7 separate regions of the Homo sapiens genome follow, and regions 1, 3, 4, 5, 6 and 7 are each linked to region 2. Evidence: promoter capture Hi-C in 16 types of primary human blood cells and fetal thymus (Javierre and others, 2016). All regions are on one chromosome and are shown on one strand. The core of a region is centred on a gene start or on the middle of the fragment in contact, and the rest is flanking DNA. Distances in the headings are between cores, read along the strand shown.

Evidence for each region. The method cuts DNA at HindIII sites, captures the fragments that hold promoters and counts their contacts. A CHiCAGO score of 5 or more calls a contact.
Region 1: a fragment that was not itself captured here is called in contact with the fragment with the promoter of STAU2 in region 2 in 3 of 17 cell types (neutrophils, M1 macrophages and naive CD8 T cells); the score reaches 5.5 in neutrophils.
Region 3: a fragment that was not itself captured here is called in contact with the fragment with the promoter of STAU2 in region 2 in 1 of 17 cell types (neutrophils); the score reaches 5.2 in neutrophils.
Region 4: a fragment that was not itself captured here is called in contact with the fragment with the promoter of STAU2 in region 2 in 3 of 17 cell types (activated CD4 T cells, neutrophils and naive CD8 T cells); the score reaches 13.7 in activated CD4 T cells.
Region 5: a contact is called between a fragment that was not itself captured here and the fragment with the promoter of STAU2 in region 2, in 1 of 17 cell types (activated CD4 T cells). The highest score is 5.7, in activated CD4 T cells.
Region 6: a fragment that was not itself captured here is called in contact with the fragment with the promoter of STAU2 in region 2 in 2 of 17 cell types (neutrophils and activated CD4 T cells); the score reaches 12.9 in neutrophils.
Region 7: a contact is called between a fragment that was not itself captured here and the fragment with the promoter of STAU2 in region 2, in 4 of 17 cell types (activated CD4 T cells, neutrophils, non-activated CD4 T cells and 1 more). The highest score is 14.1, in activated CD4 T cells.

The regions. Positions count from the first base shown.
Region 1 is chr8:73,313,629-73,316,899 of GRCh38, reverse strand. The region is part of intron 2 of RDH10 (retinol dehydrogenase 10); the gene reads right to left. It overlaps RDH10-AS1 (RDH10 antisense RNA 1), which reads left to right. Exons shown (of 6, transcript NR_125388.1): 5 at 1,295-1,334. Among named protein-coding and RNA genes, the nearest start is that of RDH10, 21 kb to the right of the region's middle. The HindIII fragment of the contact is 1,302 bases long and covers 619-1,920 here.
Region 2 is chr8:73,745,178-73,748,371 of GRCh38, reverse strand. It overlaps STAU2 (staufen double-stranded RNA binding protein 2), which reads left to right and starts at 1,532. Exons shown (of 15, transcript NM_001164380.2): 1 at 1,532-1,589. RefSeq lists silencers at 1,030-1,319, 1,400-1,489, 1,780-1,959, 2,070-2,129. The HindIII fragment of the contact is 14,890 bases long and covers 1-3,194 here.
Region 3 is chr8:73,264,962-73,268,646 of GRCh38, reverse strand. It overlaps a transcript of C8orf89 not described here. Among named protein-coding and RNA genes, the nearest start is that of C8orf89, 7.3 kb to the right of the region's middle. The HindIII fragment of the contact is 6,052 bases long and covers 1-3,685 here.
Region 4 is chr8:74,040,105-74,043,571 of GRCh38, reverse strand. It overlaps a transcript of LY96 not described here. Among named protein-coding and RNA genes, the nearest start is that of LY96, 50 kb to the right of the region's middle. The HindIII fragment of the contact is 7,934 bases long and covers 1-3,467 here.
Region 5 is chr8:74,019,903-74,023,060 of GRCh38, reverse strand. All of the region lies in intron 3 of LY96 (lymphocyte antigen 96), which reads right to left. Among named protein-coding and RNA genes, the nearest start is that of LY96, 30 kb to the right of the region's middle. The HindIII fragment of the contact is 3,841 bases long and covers 1-3,158 here.
Region 6 is chr8:74,095,369-74,099,031 of GRCh38, reverse strand. It overlaps a transcript of LY96 not described here. Among named protein-coding and RNA genes, the nearest start is that of LY96, 110 kb to the right of the region's middle. The HindIII fragment of the contact is 1,842 bases long and covers 980-2,821 here.
Region 7 is chr8:74,057,173-74,060,506 of GRCh38, reverse strand. It overlaps a transcript of LY96 not described here. Among named protein-coding and RNA genes, the nearest start is that of LY96, 67 kb to the right of the region's middle. The HindIII fragment of the contact is 7,541 bases long and covers 1-3,334 here.

The DNA.
Region 1 (3,271 bases), core at 20-2,519, 430 kb after region 2:
CAGCACCATCTCCTGGTGCTGCTCTAGTGATGAGTGAGTTCTTGCGAGATCGGGTTGTTTAAACGTGTGCAGCCCCCACCCCCTCGCTTCCTCCTGCTTCTGCCGTGTTTATTGCTGCACCCTCTTTGCCTTCTACCATGACTGAAAGCTCCCTGAGTCTTCCCCAGAAATGGAGTAGAAGCCTCTATGCTTCCTGTACAGCCTGCAGAACCGTGAGCCAATTAGACTTCTTTTCTTTGTAAATTACCCAGTCTCACGTATTTCTGTATGGCAGTATGAGAACAGACTAATACAGCAAGTGAACACACTTCTCATTACTGCATTGCCCAAGTACACTGCTGAGGAAGAGAGACACATGTTTCAGCTTGATTGTATTTCTTTGTAGTAGTAAAAACAGAAAGAGTAATTATGACAGTAATTATTATTTTGATCTGTTACCAGAAAAAGTCAAAAACTGGTACTTCAGGTTATTATGGGTTCAACTTTAGGCTCTATAATTTATACATGGGTATTATATCACAGAATTGAAATAAAGTAACATCACAATGGAATTTATATATTCCAATCTAAACTAGAAAACAGCTGGGCACAGTGGCTCACACTTGTAATCCCCAAGCTTTGGGGGAGGTTAAGGCGGGAGGATCACTTGAGCCCAGGAGTTCAAGACCACCCTAGGAAACACTGTGAAACGCTGCCTCTACAAAAAATACAAAAAATTAGCCGGGCATAGTGGTGTGTGCCTGTAGTCTCAACTACTTGGGAGGCTGGGGTAGACAGATCGCTTGAGCCCAGGAGGTCGAGGCTACAGTGAGCCGTGATTGTGTTATGGCACCCCAGCCTAGGCGACAGAGCGAGACCCTGCCTCAAACAACTAGAAAACATATCCCTAAGTAATCAAGCCTATATGTCTTTTAAAAGTATCTAGTTATGATTAATTGTTCCCAGATTAGCCAAAAAGTATAAAACATATTATTGACGTTAACCAGAGATCATTTTTAAGTTTTGAAAATTTGCCTAGTCTTGGAAGACAGCAATAAACTTAACATAAAGGGTCTTAGTTATCTTTCTGTATAAAAGTTAAAGTATAAGGACTCAATATTAAATCCTAAGAAATTACATCCAATATCAAATTCCTATCAGAACCTGCTACTTGGTTACCTGACAAATCTGAATCACTCACTCACGTGTCCACTCTAACTCCAGCCAGCGGCTGGCTCTGACTAGAAACTCAGACACCATAGCAGGTTGGCTGTAATGACTTCCCTGTATTCACGTGCTCTGGTCTTGCCTGCAGGTATTAAATGACTAATCCAGATCCCCAGCACCACATCAAGGTAGGTGACAGAAGATTAACAAGTTCCTAACTGTTCTTTAAGTGTAATTTGTTGCAACGTTCTGAAACTGATTAATATCCCCTCCCCTTCTTGCCCTGAAATGAATCTGGTGGTATTAAATTAAATAAAATAGTTCCAGTTTGTCCATAAGGAGGGTAGTATGGCTGCATATTCTAAAAAATGTGACGTGGGGACACACTTCCACCTGTGGGACCCTCCCCCCACCCCCAAATTGTCTGAAGAGGAGTTAAGCTAGTGGTTTAAAGGAAAAGGAAGCAAAAAAGGGCGAGGGGGAGAGAGAGAGGAGGCCGGTGGGGGGAGAGAGAGAGAGAGGAGGCCGGTGGGGGGAGAGAGAGAGAGAGGAGGCCGGTGGGGGGAGAGAGAGAGAGAGGAGGCCGGTGGGGGGAGAGAGAGAGAGAGGAGGCCGGTGGGGAGAGGAAGGGAGAGAGAAAGAGAAACCAAACAATCCAGATATGGCTATGTGAAAAAAATCTTTTCCAACTGTGGGCTATAAACATTTGGAGAAATATATTCCAATTTTAAAGAGTAAAGTACGACACATGCTGGCTGGTTGTAATATGAAGCTTTCTTTTGAGAGGGAGATTATTTGTTTTGTTCTGTAAAGCACAGGTGAGTCAATGTTCAGTTTAAAACATGTGATTTCTTTGCCTAATCAAGGACAAATCTGGCCTTCTGTATAAATTAAATCCAATGTATCTTTGCATTTTCCACATTTTTAAGACAAAGATCCATATTTTTTATTTGAAAGGCTCATTAATTACAGGCAACACTGCAATTACTATAACAATCACTCACAGCGTCAACAACCACCAAAGAGCTGCGCGGAGGGAACTGAGAGGTGAAGAAAGCTATCCAGGGCCGCTAATCAGCCTGAGATCCCAGACGGCTTGTTTCTAAAGCTGGTGTCAAACATTTACTCAGCTCTGCTCTGTGTCGGGCAAAGGCAGGCTTGGGGTAGGAGCACCCACATCAGGACCACTCGGGTTTCTTTTAAGCCTGTGCTCAGGTTCCCGCTGGAGCCCAGTACACGTGACTGAGCACGAAGGCTGTTAATCATTTCCTTTGCTGCCTGAATAGAGGCGAGCAATTACTCCAAACTCCTGCCTTATGTCTGGGGCGCATTATTAAATAAACTTTGATCAACATGAATTCTATTCCATACTTTGCAAGAAAAATGCTATAGTTGGGTGACTAGAAAGCATCACATTTTCAGGAATTTTCCCAAGTAACCTGACTAGTTTTCTTTTCTAATTACTCTTGCCCTCAACAGTCTGGTAGATGACATTTGAGATAGCACAGCATATTCTGTCCTTGACACTGCTTGACAGCACAAAGAAATCTGGCACTTTGCAATGAATTATTAATGTGCACAAATATTGTAGCATGTATGAGATAGAGACCAGCAAAAGGTGAAGTGCTAGTTGCCATGACACCAGTCAGTTCAAGCTAAGGTTCATAATCTTTAACTTTGTCTCAAAGAGTCGTCAGAAGAACATAAAGGGCAAATCTGAAACACACAGCCAAACGGCTTTGGTATAGATTAATGCCTGTGACGCATGGGTGGATCTGAGAGGGCAGCACAGATAATTTGCTGACCAATAGGACTGCTGTGTTACATCAAGTATAAGGATGGATAGATCAGGAGTTATCATCTAGTAAAGGGGTCTCTAAATGCAGTACATGTGCTCAGTCTCCAGAGTGAGCTGGTGCCCATGCTGGTTGGCAAGGTTTGCTAGATGCTAAATGTAAGTCAGAGAATTGCACTCTATTGCAGTGTCCTCTTTACTGTCTAAAAAACAGAAGAGGACATCAAGTTCTTCAGCAGGAAAATATGGTTGACTCTTGATCTAGGGGGTCTCAAAGTCAGTAACCAATATATGAAACAGGAAGTTTACAGAATTTAGAGTTGGAAGGGG
Region 2 (3,194 bases), core at 283-2,782:
GAATGCTGACTGGGTGCGTAAGCCGCTAGAAGGAGCACAGCAAATTTAGGGAGGATGCAACATGTTAAATCCGAGGGAACTGGCAGAGGTGAAAAGGGGGGAAAGGAGCATAGGAAAGAGTTCTGGGAGGAAAAATATAGCTGTAGCTAACATTGTACCAGGAGAGGTACTACATACCCGGTCCTATTTAAAGGGCTTCATATGTATTGTCACATTTAAATACGAACTATCTATCACATGTAGTCTCCTCTTGATGCACAGGATAAGTAACATGCCCGTGGTCTCCTCACCAGTTAGCAAGCGGATATCCAGCCTTGGTTATCTGACTCTGGCGCCCTTGCGGTTAACCAGGACACACACTACCTTCCCAGGTGCAGACATGAGATTGGTTTTAGATGATGACTGAAATCACCGGCCTGGGAGACATTTCTCAGTCAGAGAAGTGACACTGGGAAGAAACCCTAGAAATAACGTTGCAAACGAGTAAGTTTGTGAAAACACACTAATAGTTCTATTTCGAAATTTCTTTGTCAGATTATTTTTGGTGCCGGTTACTAAACGAAGTGTTCAGTTTCATTGAGCTTAACTGGGTTGAAGTTATCTAGACAAAAGTAATCCACATCAAAACCAGGACGAATTAAGACGTAATTTCTGTTTTCTGGCACTCTTGCCTCATAAATCTAGGATTCAGGGCATTGTTTTCAATGGTTCTCATTTTTGGCTCCAAGGATTCTTTTTCATGTGACTAATATTTTCGGTAGAAGAGGAGGTCTGGCCACGCCGCGGGTCTTGGCGAGCAGGTGATCACGGATCCCTGGTGTTTGCTGGGCGAGACGGTGAAGCAACCTCCTCCCCGCCCCCTCCCCCGTCTAGAAAGGTGCAAGATCCGCTAAACCGTGCGTTGCACAGCGGCGGCCGGAGCAGACGCGGGATGGTCGCGCGTCCCCTGCACAGCACAGAGGGGCAGCCGGAGAGCCTGGGAAAGGTACGAGCGGGGAATCAGAGCACAGGGTGCGGACCAGAAAGAGCAGACGGTCAGTCGGGCGGGGAAGGAAGTTGCCGAGTTGCAGGTGTGGAAGGGGCTGCCCCAGGCCCACCCTTGGCAGACGAGGGGGCGGGGAGTCGCGCCGGGGACGAGGAGACTGCGGACCGGGCGCGCTCCTTGCGCAGTCGCTCGCCCGCGTGCCCAAGCCCCCCGGGAATGGCCCTCGCCCAGGGGCCCAGCTCGCCGCCGCTAGCCCCGCAGAGCCTGCAGCTGCTGGGGCCCGGCAGCCGCCAGGGGGCGGGAGCTGCGTCGCGAACAATGGCCGCGCTTGGTCGCGGGCCGGCGGGAGGCGGAGTGGAGGTAGAGCCGGTGCCGGGCGCGCGCGCCGGCCGGGCGTGCTGGGGCGCGGGAGCGGCTGCGCAGGCGGGGGCGCGCGGCGCGAGCGCGGGAGGGCGCGGCGGGAGCGCCGGGGAGGCGGGCGGAGGCGGGCGGAGGCGGGGGGCGGGGAGCCCGAGGGGTGGAAGCCGGCGGCGGCCGAGCGGGGTCAGTTCTCTGTAGTGTTTGCCAATGTTGGAGCCGTCTGCAAAGTGTCCCCGGCAAGAAGGTAAATACCCTCATCGGGGGCGTCCGGGAGACCCCGACTTCCGCGCCGCCGGCGAAGAAGGCAGAGGGCGCTGGGGAGCCCTGCAGTTCCGCAGCACGGGGAACCCGGAGAAAAGCAGCCCCCTTCGCGGCCTCCCCTCCCCCGCGCCTTCCCTCCCACATCGGGCTCTCGGGGCAGCAGCGGGGAGGGGAGACCGGCGGGGGAGGGAGGACAGGGAGGCGAAGGAATTGGGGTGGGGGGTGCGTGTGTGGTGGAGGGGGTGGGACGACACAGGTGTCCTGAGGGGAGGAGCCGGGAGGAAGGCGAGGAGGCCGGGCCAAGTGGGGGTGCGGAGGTCGGGGAGACAGGAACGCGGCTGCGGGCGCGGGAGGCTGGGGTTCTAGGGGGCCGGGGTGGTAGCGGCCGGAAGAGAGGACGGCGAGTGCAGCCACGGTGTGGCTGCGAGGGAGAGGGAGCGCCTAGAGTAGGGCAGGGGAGGGCGGCCCGGGGAGGGTCTGCGGGAAATGGGCCTGGGGGCGCTGGAGGCGGAGCGGCGGGGCCGGGGCGCGCCGGAGGGTGGCGGCGGCAGCTATTTCTGTAGAATGGGCTAGTGGTAAAGACGTAACTTGCCGAAATGGGGAGGGTAGGTGGGGCCGAGGGGACAAAATATATCCTATGACAGGCAAGTTCTGCTGTGGCTGTTACGAACTCCTACCGTGATGGCTCGGCTTAAAGGGGTAGTTGGCGGTAGTGACCTTGCCGGGGTGAAGGGAGTTGGGCGAGGAGACAAAGCTCAGTTACGGAATCCGCTGTGTGAGAGCAGGAACTCTAGTCTCTTCGGGGTCGAGCCGGGGGCTGTGGCTTGGGGGCTGGGGGTGCTCCGCAGAGGCCATTGAGAAGCACGCCACTCTGGGATTCTTAGGGAGGCGGTGGGGGTAATGGCCGTGGGATTCTGGAAGTCTTTGGAAATGTGTGTAGAATTTTGCATTTGTGAATAATTTTCTTTGGTAAGGGTCCATATTTGCTGTGATGTCCCCTTACCCCCATCCCCACTCCAAAGGGTTAAGAACTGCTTGAGCAGATAGAGAGGGACCATTCAATTAGGGTAGACCTGGGAATTTACCAAAGGATTTTAAAGTGGGTGGATCCTGCAGAAAGAAAGGCTAGAGATGATCCTTTAAAGATATTTTACTGTTAATTGAAAACGTTTTTTATTTAATGTTTGCTTTCACAATTTTGGTGAACTTTTGCTGAGCATTACTTGGCTTCTGATGCATCCTGTGTTTCAGACCAGCATCGTGAATACTTGAAATCAAAATTGTGATGGACAGGCAGGGTGATAGTAACCTTGGAGGAGAAAAGATTTCAACATTTCTCCAGGATATTTCTTCCCCGTCCTTGCTTTCTTTAGATGATTCAAGTACACTGTTGTGAACTCAGCTGCGGTGGAAAAATCTTATTTAATAAAACTACCAAAACCAAGACTTACTCTCCATCTCTGTTTTGTAGTATGGCCAGATTTTCATTGTTCAGTTTGTATCTTACTGCAAACAAGAGATATCACATAACACTTTAATTGTAGATTGCTGCATTTTGCAGCAGGCCTGTATTAAATTTGCGAAGCAG
Region 3 (3,685 bases), core at 642-3,141, 480 kb after region 2:
ATTATGACATCTTAAAAAATTAATCATAATTCTTTAATGCTATCAAATATCCTGTCAGTGCTCAGACTACCCTGATTGTCTCATAGAGTATCTTTTAAAAAGCAATTCATGCAAAGTTCATACACTGCAATTGTTTGCTATGTTTCTTTTCTTTTTTTTTTGTTTTTTGAGACAGAGTCTCACCCTGTCGCCCAGGCTGGAGTGCAGTGGCGCGATCTCGGCTCACTGCAACCTCTGCCTCCCAGGTTCAAGCAGTTCTCCTGCCCCAGCCTCCTGAGTAGCTGGGATTACAGGTGCGTGCCACCACACCTGGCTAATTTTTTTTATCTTTAGTAGAGACAGGGTCTCACCATGTTGGCCAGGCTGGTCTCGAACTCCTGACCTCGTGATCTGCCTGCCTCGGCCTCCCAAAGTGCTGGGATTACAGGCATGAGGCACCGCGCCCAGCCTGCTATGTTTCTTAAATCTCTTTTAATCTATAGATTATCCCTACCCCCTATACGGATGATTGACTGATTAATTGTAATTTATTTGTGGAAAGAAACAGTTTATTTGTCTCAGGTCAAAACTGCAGTCTGATTTTGCTGATTGTATCCCCGCGATGCCATTTAATATGTTGTTTTGTCTTCTATTCCTCTAAATCAGGAGTTAGATCTAAAGGCTTCATCAGAGTTGGGTTTGATTTTTTTCTGGCAAGAATGCTATATAGATGGTGGTGTTCTGCCAGAGACACATCTTCGGCAGGAGTTAGTACTGCAGTGTTGAGGTAGAATTTCCTTCCTCAAGGAAACATCAGTTTTTCTCCAGGGACTTTCAACTAATTAGATAAAGCCCACTCAGATTATTGAGGAAAATCTCCTTTACTTAAAGTCAACTGACTGTACGTGGTAACTACATCTACAAAATACTGTCCCAGCAACACCTAGATTAGTGTTTAATTAGATAACTAGATACTATATAGCCTAACCAAGCTGAAACAAAACATTAATCGTCATAATTGCCAAGCTCCATTTATTAAGGTTTGCAAAATGGTAATATTTTATAATCATACTCTAATTCCCTCATTTATTAGTTGAGATACTGTGAGAAACTTTCCTATCATCATTTATTTGAATAAATGCTTGGTTATTTCCTGATATGTATTGGGTTTCAAATTAAGTTGATCCTTTAGTATCCTCCAAAGATGAGTAAGGTTTTCATTTGTTTTTGCTGTTGTTTTGTTTTTAAGTGCTGTACAGCAGTTCCCCCTCATTTTCAGTTTCTGGTTTCAGTTATCCATCATCAACTGAGGTCAGAAAATATTACATACAATAAAATATTTTGAGAGAAAGGGCACATTCACATAACTTTTATTATAGTACATTGTTATAATTGTTCTATTTTATTATTAGCTGTTGTGGTTAATCTCTTACTGTGCCTAATTTATAAATTATCATAGGTATGTATATATAGGAAAAAACATAGCATATATAGGGTTCAGTACTATCCACAGTTTCAGGCACACACTGGAAGTCTTGAGCTGTATTCCCCAGGGATAAGGGGGGATTACCGTATATTTACACATTTGTGTATTCTACATGCTTAACATATTTTAATCCATTAAAGTTAATATTCTTATTAAGGTTTATAGTCCTATCTTTGGTCAGTTGGCACCTCATTAAATCGGTGACTGCCATGATTGCAGTTGTCTTTGATAGATTCCTAGACTTCTGAAATGACAAATTATTACAGGTTCATTTTGTATATTTCCTACCACAGACCTGGAATCAGCTACTTCTTCCAGGGGCCCTAGTTTTTTTTTTCTTTTTTCAGGAATGAGATCACAGCCTGGTTGTTAGGGGTTTTTAATGCTCTTGGTTTGATGATTGTTTCTGGGCGCCTGCAGTTCAGTGGACAGTGCTAGGAAACATTTTTTCATGGTTATTTTAAATAAAAGCCTGTATAATGATACTTCCAATTCATGTTTAGGACTTTGGGAGTTTTCACTTAATCTTATTGATCTTAAATCTTTATGTTTTTCTCCAACACTGGAAACCTTGGTTGCCATCAGCACCATATAAACATTCACCTACTGAAAAGCCACCTCAAACCATAAGGTAGATCCTGTACGTTCAGGGAGGTAGAGCAGTAAGATAGAAGTAGTCTGGCTCTCTGACATCCTGGCACCAGCCTTGAGAGGTCTGGCCAGGCTTTTATATGGTGGAAAATATTCTTGTGTAAGCCATTCATATTCCAGCCATCTTTTCCCATGTCATGATGACACCTCAAATGAGTGGATAGAAACTTTGAGCAATCTATCCCAAGATAGAAGGGCTTCATAGATTGCTCCATCTCAGAGTTCTGTGAGGGACCATAAGCAGGTCCATTCACTCACTGAAAAGCCCAGAAGGCTGCCTGCCAGCTACACAGTCATCCTAAATGAGCCAGAGGTGGCCGAAGGTTTTCACTCTTCTGTCTCCCTCTTTATCAATTTCTTTTCTGTTCTCCAGATGAATGGAGATACAAGAAAAGGTAAGAATCATTTTTTAAAAGTTAAGATACCTTCATTAGTGTTTTGAAATTCAAATTTTAGACTGTGGGAATGTGACTGGATGTGAGGAGATCAGTTAAATCCTAATACAACAACCCAGGCATGAAATGACAGTAGCTTGGAGTAGGGTGGAGATGGAGAGAAGTAGACAGATTAAGAGATATGTAAGAGATAAAACGAACAGCTCTTATTGAATGACAAGATTTAGGAGGAAAGAGGGGTGTCCATGTTGGCATCCAGGTTTCTACCTTTTGTTACTGGAGCATGATGATGTCAGGTACTGTTAGGGAATCTGGAAGGAAACATACTTCAGTTGGAAAACGTGGCTAGTTTGGGGGCATTTTGAATTTGAGATGCCCTTGAGACATCCAGGTAAAGCTCCCTAATAAGCAGTTCTTTTTGTATGCTGATTGCTCAGAAGAGATGCCTGAAGATATAGATTTAGGATTCTTTGAAGAATGGCATGGGAGAGATCACCATGCTAGCCATATTTAACTGCTTACATTCCTTGAACAGAGAAGTTCTTTTGATACCTCTGTGTCATTGCCCAGCAACGACTCTATAAAGAGGTCTGACCACTCCTCCAACCTGGACTTAGCTTAGGGGGGTCATCTCCTTAAAGCCTTTCCTGAGAATTAACAACTCCCTTCTTTGTGTTCCACAGTGTCCTTTATGTGCCTTTAAACCAGAGATTTGCTTTTAACCCAACTCTAAGATGTTTCTTCCTATTCAAAGCCTTCTGATGGATTTTTGATGCACGTAGAATAAAATCCAAACTCTGTTATGACTTATAAAGCCCTAAAATACCTGATATCTGCTATCTTTCAAACCTTGTCTTATTCTCCTCTCCCCTTTGCTAGCTTCATATGTAATTTAAAAATTTCTGAAAGCCACATTAAAAATGCAAAAAGAGACAGGTGAAATTAATGTAAATAACCTTATTTAATCCAAAGTATCCAAACTAGTATCATTTCAACATAAAATCAATACAGCATATAAATTGTTAATGAGATATTTTAGATTCTTTTTTTTTTCCTCAAGAAGTGTTTGCAATCTGATGTGTATTTTACACTTATAGCACATCACAATTCTGACTAGCATGTTTTAAGTGCTCAGTAGCCACCTATGACTAGGGTCTACCATATTGGATACCAT
Region 4 (3,467 bases), core at 789-3,288, 290 kb before region 2:
TGTCAACCTCCTTGGCAACTAATATGAGCAAATTCCAGTCAACCTCAACCTGCAAAAAGACCACTGGCAATGGCAGTGCCCCCACCACTGCTGCATGGTCTATCCCAACTGCAGTCCCTGGCTGAGTATTCCAGTTCATTGCTTTTGGGTCTAAGCTCGCATCTTACCTCTCAAAAGCCCTGAATAAAGCCCTACAGAATTCTGACAGCAAGAACACAATCTTCACACATCTGTGACACACAGGACTTCAGAATTAGTCCCAATTGACAACCTCTTCATTCACTGAGAATCACTTCAGCTAGCATATCTCACTGGCCCACACCTCCCTACCCCTGTTCCTGTATTGCCCTGTAGACTTATTTTGAGTTACTGATCCTAATCATTCAATATTTACTGGCACCTCTATGTGCCAGACATTAAGCGTTGGTGAATGACAGGGATGTGGTTGCTGTATCAACCCTCCTGTGGGCCTTTTCTTCTTCAAAAGGTAACAAACCGGCCAGGTATGGTGGCTCATGCCTGTAATCCCAGCACTTTGGGAGGCTGAAGTGGGTGGATCATGAGGTCAAGAGATTGAGACCATCCTGGCCAACATGGGGAACCCCGTCTCTACTAAAAATACAAAAAATTAGCAGGGTGTGGTGGCACATGCCTGTAGTCCCAGCTACTCGGGAGGCTGAGGCAGGAGAATCTCTTGAACACGGGAAGTGGAGGTTGCAGTGAGATGAGCTCACGCCACTGCACTCCAGCCTGGCAAGAGAGCAAGACTCTGTCTCGAAAAAAAAAAAAAGGTAACAAAACAAAAGTTCTCCAGATCCTAAAGCCTAAATCTTAACAAACTTTTAAGGACTACTAAAGACTAGAACCTAGACCTCTGTACAAACAGGTTTTGTTTGGTTTGTCTGAAATTAAGAAACTGCCTCTACAAGATTCCAGCACTCATTCATTCCTAACATAACCTCTTACCTCAGTGCTATGCTCGTGTTGGAAGAGTTATGCTCTTGTGTAAAAAAGCAGAATTTTGAGTGAGTCCAATCCCAAATTTTTTTTTTTGAGATGGAGTTTCGCTTTTGTCACCCAGGCTGGAGTGAACGATCTCGGTTGCTCACTGCAACCTCCACCTCCTGGGTTCAAGCAATTCTCCTGCCTCAGCCTCCCAAGTAGCTGAGACTACAGGCACCTGCCACCATGTCTGACTAATTTTTTGTATTTTTAGAGAGATGGGGTTTCACCATGTTGGCCAGGCCAGTCTTGAACTCCTGACCTCAGGAGATCCACCTGCGTCAGCCACCCAAAGTGCTGGGATTACAGGCGTGAGCCTCTGTGCCCAGCCCCAGTCTCAAATTCTGTTAGTTTGACTAGAAAGGTACACAGTAATGCATGCATGCCTTTGTTATTTTTAATTAACTTAAAAATGTTTATTTTTAGCTAATTTATGGTGGAACCTGCCCCCAATATTTCAGTGTAGGTTCTTTCTATTTTCCGTAAGTGTCAGCTGGCTGAGAAATAAAGAGAAAGAGAATAAAGAGAGGAATTTTACAGCTGGGCCTACAGGGGTGACATCACATATCAGGAGGACCATGATGCCCACCTGAGCTGCAAAACCAGCAAGTTTTATTAAGGATTTCAAAAGGGGAGGGGGTGCAAGAACAGGGAGTAGGTCACAAGATCACATGCTTCAAAGGGCAAAAAGAACAAAGATCACATGCTTCTGAGGAAACAGGACAAAAGGCAAAACAGAACTACTGATAAGGGTCTATGTTCAGCTGTGTATGTATTGTCTTGATAAACATCTTAAACAACAGAAAACAGGGTTCAAGAGCAGAGAACCGGTCTGACCTCAAATTTACTAGTGGTGGGGGGGGTTTCCCCACCCTAATAAGCCTGAGGATACTGCAGGAGATCAGTGTGTATTTCAGTCCTCATCTCAACCGCATAAGACAGACACTCCCAGAGCGGCCGTTTATAGACTTCCCCCAAGGAATGCATTCCTTTCCCATGGTCTTAATTATTAATATTCCTTGCTAGGAAAATAATTTAGTGATATCTTCCCTACTTGCACGTCCACTTATAGGCTCTCTCCAAGAAGAAAAATATGGCTCTATTCTGCCCAACCCCACAGGCAGTCAGACCTTATGGTTGTCTTCCCTTGTTCTCTGAAAATTGCGGTTATTCTGTTCTTTTTCAAGGTGCACTGATTTCATATTGTTCAAACACACATGTTTTACAATCAATTTGTACAGTTAACACAATAGTTGTCCTGAGGTGATGTACATTCTCAGCTTATGATGATAACAGGATTAAGAGATTAAAGACAGGCATAAGAAATTATAAAAGTATTAATTTGGGGAACTGAGAAATGTCCATATTAAAATGAAATCTTCACAATTTATGTTCAGAGATTGAAATAAAGACAGGCATAAGAAATTATAAAAGTATTATTTGGGAACTGATATATGTCCATATTAAAATGAAATCTTCACAATTTATGTTCCTCTGCCGCGGCTCCAGCTGATCCCTCCGTTTGGGGTCCCTGACTTCCCGCAACACTAATTTTAAGTAAATATTTAAATAATTTCAGATTCATAATAGTTTCAAATTTATAGAAAAGTTGCAAGAAGGTGGGTGGATCACGAGGTCAGGAGATCAAGACCATCCTGGCTAACTTGGTGAAACCCCATCTGTACTAAAAATACAAAAAATTAGCCCGGTGTGGTGGCACGTGCCTGTAGTCCTAGCTACGTGGGAGGCTGAGGCAGGAGAATTGCTTGAACCCGGGAGGTAGAGGTTGCAGTGAGCTGAGATCGTGCCACTGCACTCCAGCCCAGGCGACAGAGTGAGATTGCATCTCAAAAAAAAAAAAAAAAAAAAAACAGACACATAGAGTAATGGAAAAGAATAGAGAACCCAGAAATAAATTCATACATCTACATTGAACTGATTTTTGACAAGGCTACCAAAAGCATACATGGGGATAGAACAGTCTCTTTAATAAATGGTGCTGGGAAAACTGGATATCCATAAGCAGAAAAATGAAGCTAGACCTCTATCTCTCATTATGTATACAAATCAAATCAAAATAGATTAAAGACAAATCTAAGACCTCAAACTATGAAACTACTACAAGAAAACATTGAAGAAACTCTCTAGGACACTGGTCTAGGCAAAGATTTCTTGAGTAATACCCCACAAGCACAAGCAACCAAACCAAAAATGGACAAATAGGATTGTGGGTGAAAGATTACCTAGGTGCCAAGGCAAGAGCCTGAAGGCACAAACTGTTTCAGTATAATAAAGAAAATAGTTAGATTAAGAATAGTTATAATACAAATTAGATATAGAGATGATCATGGACATTATCAATCATTAGTATAATCATTATTAATCATTAGCTTTTAATATTACTCTTCGTTGCATTACTAATATAACCTAGGAATAACTGGCGGGTATAGGGTCGGGTACTGAAG
Region 5 (3,158 bases), core at 182-2,681, 270 kb before region 2:
TAAAATTATTAAGAATTTCAAGACTATGATCACAGGGCATTAAACCCCAAGCATGGGGCCCTTCCGTATATGGGGCCCTGGACTCTGGTCATAAAGCCAACTCTGTAAACTTTGTGTAAGGGGCAGGGGAGGAAGATGGATGAGACTTGAGGATATGAGAAAGAAATTAAGAACAACCACTAGACCAGGAACAGTGGCTCACGCCTGTAATCCCAGCACTTTGGGAGGCCGAGGTGGGCTGATCACGAGGTGAGGAGTTTGAGACCAGCCTGGCCAACATGGTGAAACTCCATCTCTATTAAACATACAAAAAAAGTTGTTGGGCGTGGTGGCATGCACCTATAATCCCAGCTACTGGGGAGGCTGGGGCAGGAGAATCTTTTGAACCTGGGAGGCAGAGGTTGCAGTGAGCTGAGACTGCGCCATTGCACTCCAGCCTGGGCGACAGGGCGAGACCCTGTCACAAAAAAAAAAAAAAAGAAAAAAAGAAAAAACCCTAGATTTCTATTAAGGGAGACTGTCCTAACACTTAGCAGTTCAGGTAGGTGGAAGGAGTTCTAACCTCTTCTGTTGGATAGAACCCTTTTTTTTTTGTTTTTCAATTGTTTTGTCTGTCTTAGAAAGCTATCTTTTTTTTTGGTTTTTCTTTTTTTGAGACTGGAGTCTCACTGTGTAGCCCAGGCTGGAGTGCAGTGGTGGGATCTTGGCTCACCGCAACCTCTGCCTTCATTCAAGTGATTCTCCTGCCTCAGGCTCCCGGGTGGTAGCGGGGATTACAAACATGTGCTACCACACCCATCTACTTTTGTATTTTTAGTACAGACTGGGTTTCACCATGTAGGCCAGGCTGGTCTGGAACTCCTAACCTCAAGTGATCTGCCCGCCTCGGCCTCCCAAAGTGCTGGGATTACAGGCTTGAGCCACTGTGCCTGCCAAGAAAGCTCATATCTTGCTCATACCTTCCATTCTTTTCTTTTCTTTTTTTTTTAAATTATACTTTAAGTTCTAGGGTACATGTGCACAATGTGCAGATTTCTTACATATGTATACATGTGCCATGTTGGTTTGCTGCACCAATTAATTAGTCATTTACATTAGGTATTTCTCCTAATGCTATCCCTCCCCCAGCCCCCCACCCCATGACAGGCCCTGGTGTGTGATGTTCCCTGCCCTGTGTCCAAGTGTTCTCATTGTTCAATTCCCACCTATGAGTGAGAATATGCAGTGTTTGGTTTTCTGTCCTTACAATAGTTTGCTCAGAATGATGGTTTCCAGCTTCATCCATGTCCCTACAAAGGACATGAACTCATCGTTTTTTATGGCTGCATAGTATTCCATGGTGTATATGTGCCACATTTTCTTAATCCCGTCTATCATTGATGGACATTTGGGTTGGTTCCAAGTCTTTGCTGTTGTGAATAGTGCTGCAATAAACATACGTGTGCATGTGTCTTCATAGTAGCATGATTTATAACCCTTTGGGTATATACCCAGTAGTGGGATGGCTGGGTCAAATGGTATTTCTAGTTCTAGATCCTTGAGGAATTGCCACACTGTCTTCCACAATGGTTGAACTAGTTTACACTCCCACCAACAGTGTAAAAGCATTCCTATTTCTCCACATCCTCTGCAGCACCTATTGTTTCTTGACTTTTTAACAATCGCCTTTCTAACCAGTGTGAGATGGTATCTCATTGTGGTTTTGATTTGCATTTCTCTGATGACCAGTGATGATGAGCATTTTTTCATGTGTCTCTTGGCTGCATAAATGTCTTCTTTTGAAAAGTGTCTGTTCATATCCTTTGCCCACTTTTTGATGGGGTTGTTTGATTTTTTCTTGTAAATTTGTTTAAGTTCTTTGTAGATTCTGGATATCAGCCCTTTGTCAGACGGGTAGATTGTAAAAATTTTCTCCCATTCTGTAGGTCGCCTGTTCAATCTGATGACAGTTTCTTTTGTTGTGCAGAAGCTCTTTAGTTTAATTAGATCCCATTTGTCTATCTTGGCTTTTGTTGCCATTGCTTTTGGTGTTTTAGTCATAAAGTCCTTGCCCATGCCTATGTCCTGAATCATATTGCCTAGGTTTTCTTATAGGGCTTTTATGGTTTTAGGTCTAACATTTAAGTCTTTAATCCATCTTGAATTAATTTTTGTATAAGATTTAAGGAAAGGATCCAGTTTCAGCTTTCTACATATGGCTAGCCAGTTTTCCCAGCACCATTTATTAAATAGGGAATCCTTTCCCCATTGCTTGTTTTTGTCAGGTTTGTCAAAGATCAAATGATTGTAGATGTGTGGTGTTATTTCTGAGGCCTCTGTTCTATTCCATTGGTCTATATCTCTGTTTTGGTACCAGTACCATGCTGTTTTGGTTACTGTAGCCTTGTAGTATAGTTTGAAGTCAGGTAGCATGATGCCTCCAGCTTTGCTCTTTTTGCTTAGGATTGTCTTGGCAATGCAGGCTCTTTTTTGGTTCCAGATGAACTTTAAAGTAGTTTTCTCCAATTCTGTGAAGAAAGTCATTGGTAGCTTGATGGGGATGGCATTGAATCTATAAATTACCTTGGGCAGTATGGCCATTTTCACAATATTGATTCCTCCCATCCATGAGCATGGAATGTTCTTCCATTTGTTTGTGTCCTCTTTTATTTCGTTGGGCAGTGGTTTGTAATTCTCCTTGAAGAGGTCCTTTACAACCCTTGTAAGTTGGATTCCTAGATATTTTATTCTCTTTGTAGCAATTGTGAATGGGAGTTCACTCATGATTTGGCTCTCTGTTTGTCTGTTATTGGTGTATAGGAATGCTTGTGATTTTTGCACATTATTTTATATCCTGAGACTTTGCTGAAGCTGCTTATCAGCTTAAGGAGATTTGGGGCTGAGATGATGGGGTTTTCCAAATATACAATCATGTCATCTGAAAACAGGGACAATTTGACATCCTCTTTTCCTAATTGAATACCCTTTATTTCTTTCCCTTGCCTTATTGTCCTGGCCAGAACTTCCAACACTATGTTGAGTAGGAGTGGTGAGAGAGGCATCCCTGTCTTGTGCCAGTTTTCAAAGGGAATGCTTTCAGTTTTTGCCCATTCAGTATGATATTGGCTGTGGGTTTGTCATAAATAGCTCTTATTATTTTGAGATACGTTCCATCAATA
Region 6 (3,663 bases), core at 651-3,150, 350 kb before region 2:
CCTGTATTCTGCCAGTCATAGAAACATGTTGAAAATCTTGATAGTGGTTATAAAAATGTTTTCAGGAGAGGCATCCTCCTTTTCATTTTCCTGTTCTATAAAGTAAGGACTATTTTCTAGGACCCCTTTCAGACTGTTAGGGTGTGATTACTGGCTACATTTTAGAAAATTAATCTCTTAGAATTGCTAACTCTGTCTGAATCATGGGCTATGAAGCAATTATGTCACCAAAAGTTAGATAATTTGTAAGGGTCATTGTTTTTTATTCTAAAAGGGCTAATAATAGACCAGCTGCTGTCAAGAGCAACAGAATTCTGCAAGTTCTTAGTATCATCAAATAAATACTAAGACAGAATAAGATGGTCTGGGTGTGGTGGCTCACACTTGTAATCCCAGCACTTTGGGAGGCCAAGGTGGGTGGATCACTTGAGGTCAGGAGCTTGAGATCAGCCTGGCCAACATGGCAGTCTCTACTAAAAATACAAAATATTAGCTGGGCGTGGTGGTGGGTGCCTGTAATCCCAACTTCTTAGGAGGCTGGCGCATGAGAATCGCTTGAGCCCAGGAGGCGGAGGTTGCACTGAGCCAAGATCATGCCACTGTACCCTAGCTTGGGTGACAGAGTAAGACTCTGTCTCCAAAAAGAATATAAAAAGACAGAATAAGATGAACCTGTGAGATTTTTTTTAATTCGGACAATTCTGGCATGATTAGCTTGCACCATAAGGGACATTTGTAAACATTTTTCTAAGGCCTTACTTTTTTATACAGTTTCCAAAAGAAATCCTGGGTCTTCTTTAACTCCCTGCTCAGTAAAGTGTGAATTGAGAGGCAGTATTGAATACCGAAGGGCTAGAGCTGGCAAGATACTTCTGAAATTACTCATTTCTGACTCTCACATCACAGACAAGTAAGCTGAAGCCCAGAGGTACACAGTAATTGGCCTGAGACAGTCCCCCAGCTATTTATTGGAAAAGCTTACCTGACACAAACAAGAAATAAGCCTTAGAGGTCTGACTGGTGAAAAACCATACCTGCTCTAAAATTTAACCAACATTATGTAGTACTTGTTGTGTTCCAGGCACTGCTTAAGTCAATTTCTCTGCTGGCCATAGAAAGTACCTAGGGATAGTGTCAAAAGGCAGCTTCTGATTCAGCAGGGCTGGTGCCAGGTCTGAGAGTCTGCATTTCTACTATAACAAGCCCCTAGGTATTGTTGATGATGCTGGTCTGAAGACCACACTTTGAGTAACTGGGGTCCAAGTACATTGTTTATTTATTTATCTATTTACTTATTTATTTACTTATTTATTTATTTATTTATTTGAGACAGAGTCTTGCTCTGTGGCCCAGGCTGGAGTGCAGTGGCACGATAGCTCACTGCAACCTCCGCCTGCCGGGTTCAAGCGATTCTCCTGCCTCACCCTCCTGAGTAGCTGGGACTACAGTCACACATCACCACACCCAGCTAATTTTTGCATTTTTTAGGAGAGACGGGGTTTCACCATGTTGGCCAGGCTGGTAACTCCTGACCTCAAGTGATCCACCCACCTCAACCTCCCAAAGTGCTGGGATTACAGCCATGAGCCAATGTGCCTGGCCCCAAGTACTTTATAAATATCAACTCTTCTATTCTCCAAAATAACACTACTACTGTTACAGATACAGGTACTGTTGCTATTCCAATTTTACAGAGGAGGAAAGTAAGGCACAGGAAAGTGAATTGTCTAAGAGCACACAGGCGGAAAGGGCCAGAGTCAGGATTTGTACCCAGACAGCCTAACGGTAACCTGTGCTCTTAACTACATTACCCTCAGATTCTCAAAAGCAACCCATGATCATCTCCATGCATCCACATATCTACTTTCAAGGCTGGGTCATTAACACTGTATTTTAAGTATGCTGTCATTAAAACAATCACCATGAAAATTATTTTTAAAATTAGGAAATGCTCATGATATAATGTTAAGCAAAAATATCAGAATACAAAATACATCAAGCCAGTCCAGGCTCCCTGACCACCCACCTCCGTCACTCAAGTAGGAACCACCCAAGTCATCCCTGCAACAGCAGGAAAGGTCTGCTCTCTTTTTCTCTCTCCCAGAAACTACCCCCAGGGAAACTTCATTCTTGCTCCTGCTCCCCAACAAACACTTTAGGAAGTGAGGTCTCCCCCGATCAAAGGCTTGAGAGAGAAGTATTCACATCACCCTGGGAGCAAGCCAGCCATCCTAGCATCTATAGCTTTCTTTCATTCATTCAACAAACATCCACTGAGGACCTGCTATGTGTCATATACCATCATAGGTGCTGGGGTACAAAACAGACAGAGTCCCCGCCCCCATGAAGATTACATTCTAGTGGGAAATGGCTGACAATTGTCAAAAGCATAAAAATAAGCATATTATATAATATCTTACTAGATGATAATTGTTATAGAAAAATAATAGAGCAGGAGAGTCAGCAGGGCTGGAGGGAGAGGGTTGCAATGGTACTTAGGGTTGTCAAGGTGACCTCAGCAAGAAAATGACATCAGAGATTTTAAGTGAGGGAGTTCATGATGCACATGTCTGGGAAAGAACATTCCAGGCAGAGAGAACCACAGGTGCAAAGGCCCTAAAATAGAAACACATCTAGAAAGTTAAAGGTACAGCAAAGAGGCCATGGTGTCTGAAATGGATGAGTGACAGGAAGAGGAGTCAGAGAGGGAATGGTTGGGGGAAGGGACAGATCATGCAGAGCCTCATTGGTCTTAATGAGGGCCTTGGTCTACTTTGAGAGTAATGGGGAGAATCAACCTTGGAGGACAAGGATGGAAGCTTGAAGACCAGCTAAAAGGCAACTGCAAGAATCCATGCAAGGGATGTTTGTGGATCAGACCAAAGTGGTTGCAGTGGAGATAGTAAGAAGTGGTAACGAGATTCCAGATATTAGGGTTTTTTGAAAGGTTAGATGTGGAATGTGAGCAAAAGAGAGGAGTCAGGGATGCTTCCAAGGCAATTGGCTCGGGCACTTAAACACATGAAGCTGTCCTTAACTGAGATGTGAAAGAAGGCAAGGAAAGCCAACTTGGAAGAAAGATCTAGAGTTCAGTTTCAGACACGTGAAGGTGGAAATGCAGAGACATGGAATAGATGGTTGGCTCTGTGAGTCTGGAATTCAGGGACAGGTGTGGGCTGGAGGTGCTCGTGTGGGAGTTTGCGGCACAGACAGCCATGAGACCAAATGAGATTTCCAAGAGCATGTGGAAGGCAGAGAAAAAGGAGCGATCTAAGGTCTGAGCCCTGGATGTGTCAATGAAAAGAGAAGGAAGCAGCAAGCATCTGGGAAGATGTATCCAGCAGCAGAAGAGGTAGGAGGGAAAGTGCAGAGTCTTGGAAGTCAAGAGAAGAAAATGTTTGCTGGAAGAGAGAGTGAGCGACTGTGTCGGCTGCTGCTGCAAGGTGAGATGGGATGAAGACTGAGAACCAAGCTTTGGATGTAGCAAGGCTGAAGCCATGGTGACCTTCACGAGCAGTTTCATGGAAGTAAGAAGAGAAATGTTTTTCCCCACAGGAAGGATAGAAAACTTCAACAATAAAAATGGGAAAGGGGCACCGTGGCTGGCATTAAACCTATAGGGAGGGATGGAGGAAGAAGCAACAATCCCTATGGCCCTTAAAG
Region 7 (3,334 bases), core at 83-2,582, 310 kb before region 2:
TCCTCTCTAGGAGTTCACTGTCTAGGTGTTCAACAAGGAAAAATGATTTAAGAGTGAAAAGTATTGTGATATAATTACCCCGACTGAAAGTCAGGGTTCCGATAGGTAGTGAATTTTAAGCCAAGACCTGAAGGCTAAGAATGGCCTATTGCCTATCCCATTAGATTTTTTTAACTTTGCTAATTGATTTATAAAATTTTAAGAAAACATTTTCTGGATATCAATTGTTTGTTATAACTGAAAACACCTCTCAGACAGACACTTAACTTTTATCTTTGTTAATGGTATTTTTTTCTTTTGACAATAAGAGTTGGAAGTTTTTCGTTGTCGTCGTCGTCGTCGTCGTCGTTGTTGTTGTTTGAAACAAGGTCTGGCTCTCCCTCCCAGGGTAGAGTGCAGTGGCATGATCCTGGCTCACTGCAACCTCTGCCTCCTGGGCTCACCTCAGCCCCCTGGGCTCTCACCTCAGCCCCCTGAGTAGCTGGGACCACTCGTGCACACCACCACGCACAGCTAATTTTTGTATTTTTAGTAGAGACAAGGTTTCACCACGTTGCCCAGGCTGGTCTCAAATTCCTGAGCTCAAGTGCTACCACCTACCTCAGCCTCCCAAAGTGCTGGGATTACAGGCCTGAGCCACTGCGCCCAAGCAAAGTTTGAAGTTTTGGATGTAACAAAATTTATCTCTTTTTTTATTTCATACTTTTGTTGTTTGTGTCTTGTTTGCCTAATATTTTGCCCTGAGATCATAAAGCTGTTCTCCTAATAGTTTTAAGTAGATTTTCTTATAATAGTTTTGAAGTTTTGCTTTTCACATTTAGACCTGTAATCCATTTGAAATTTAACTTTTTTGGAAATTTAACTACTCAAAAATGTGAATTAGACATTTCATTTTATTTTTTTTCCATAAGGAAGGTGAATTTTGGCAATGCCATTTATTGAATTTACCCTTTTCCAACGGGTATATGGAAAGTCCCTATAAATATAATCTGTTCCCAGATCTAATTATCTATTCTGTGTCAGTAGTACAGTTTTATTTATACAACTTTTTAAAAATGTCTTTATATCTGATAGAGAAATCCCCACCTCCTGCTTCTTTTTTAGAATGTCTTGGCTAGAAGTTCTTAGAATCTGTTTGTTAAGTTCCACACAATAATGTTGGGATTTTTATTAGAACTGCATTAAATTCATAATTTAATTTATGGAGAATTCACATCTTTCTATCAAGCATTTGCTTCCATAAATATGTTAGATTTCTTCATTTCTTCAGCTGTTCTTTCGTGTCCTTTGTGATAGTTAATTTTATGTACCAATTTGCCTGGGCCACAGTATGCTCAGATATCTGATTAAACACTATTGCTGGGTGTGTCTATGAGGGTGTTTCCAGAAGAGGTTAGTACTCGAATTGGTGGACTGAGTAAAGATGATGGCCTTCCCCAATGTGGGTGGACATCATTCAATCCGTGGAAGGCCTAAATAGAACAAGAAGGTGGAGGAAGTTTGGATTATCCTCTCTCTGCTTGACTGCTTGAGCTGAAACATCAATTCCTGCCCTTGGCACTCCTGGTTCTCAGGCCTTGAACTACGTCACTGGCTTTTCCTAGGTCTCCAGCTTGCAGACAGCAAACTGTGGGACTTCTCATTCCGTATAATTGCATGAGCCAATATCTTATAATAAATCTCTTTCAGCCGGGCACAGTAGCTCATGCCTGTAATCCCAGGACTTTGGGAAGCTGAGGCGGGTGGATCTCCTGAGGTCAGGAGTTCAAGACCAGCCTGGCCAACATGATGAAACCCCATCTCTACTTAAAATACAAGAATTAGCCCAGCGTCATGGCACATGCCTTTAATCCCAGCTACTCTGGAGGCTGAGGCAGGAGAATCGCTAGAAACCAGGAGGTGGAGGTTGCAGTGAGCCGAGATTGCGCCACTGCCTTCCAGCTTGGGTGACAAAGCAAGACTCCATCCAAAAAAAAAAAAAAAGAAAAACTTTCTAGATAGATAGATAGGTGTAGATATGTAAGTATCCTTTTGCTTCTGTTTCTCTGGAGAACCCTGACTAATACATTCTCTAGTAAACTTAAATTTTTCTCCATAAAGGTTTTGCAGTGGATGATATTTTCAAAAGCTAAAGTTCATGAGTAGCAGAAAGTTTAGGTTTAAGGTAGAAATTAAAGTTATAATCCAGAAGTTTCCTCTGGATCAGCTTAATATAATTAAAACTATCATGAAGAAAATAAAATGGAAATGCATTTTAATAGACCACTCTGGAAGATAATGGGAATGTGTTCAGCATAATCTGTGTTGTAATATTTTAGTTTTTTTTTTTCACCCTTACAAGAAATCAAAAGAAAGTCTGTCCTAGTGTTTCTTGGAGCATCTATCTAATATGCTAGAGTCATAGGAGTCTCCCAGGCATATTTGTTCAAGCCTAGACCTGGAGAAGTATCCTCTTCAAACAGGACTACTAGCTGCCCTTAGGCTCACGAAGTATTGAAGGCCTAAGAAGGTAATCACGGCAGGCTGGATCCCAGAAAGTGAATGCATGCTTTCACCTCTAGCTGGAACCCTTTTCTACTCCACAGATGTTCACTGCCCTTTTCTATCCCTTCTATTCCGCATTTTTATACTGAAGCATAACTTATGCTAACACCTCATCCCCTGGATTACTTTAACAGAGAATAAAACGTAAGGTAAGGAAATTAAGCTGTTAGAGTAAAATTGCAGGTGTGAGCCTGGCTACCAAGTCGCCATTTTAGTGAGTTCAGACCACTCAAATTAAAACTGATACATATCAATGACCTAAAGGAAGCCTTAGCAGGATGAGAGAAACCTAAGTGGGAGTGTGAAGATATGCCCCAACAATCATGATTTCTGTGTGGCAGGGGACAGTGAAATTGGGCCTATTCCAGAGTTCCTCAGAAATGTGAGTCACCTACATGAGACATGGCTGTGTTTGAAGAGCCTCTGAGAGCTGTCTTAGAATAAGGGAGTCAGCATATTCTTTTTCTAAAAGTGAGAAAAGAATCAAATTTAAATGACCTTCCAGTTACCTTCTGAGGATGATCCAATACAAGTTAAGGTAACATTTATAAGAACATCATGATATTTTCTAAACTTTGTAATCCCTGTATGTTTGCCATTTGTGTTACGGTATCATAATCCCCAGAGTAATCAACAGTAAAATCCCCAAAGTTTTCAAAGCCTGCAGGCTTCTTTTGAGGCCATCAAAGGTAGGAGCACTTCCCAACATAGCCTTAGAAAATGGGAACTGATGAGGAGATACGCATGTTCAATTCCTTAGTGTTGCAAGGGGAAAGGTGCGCTACGTGAA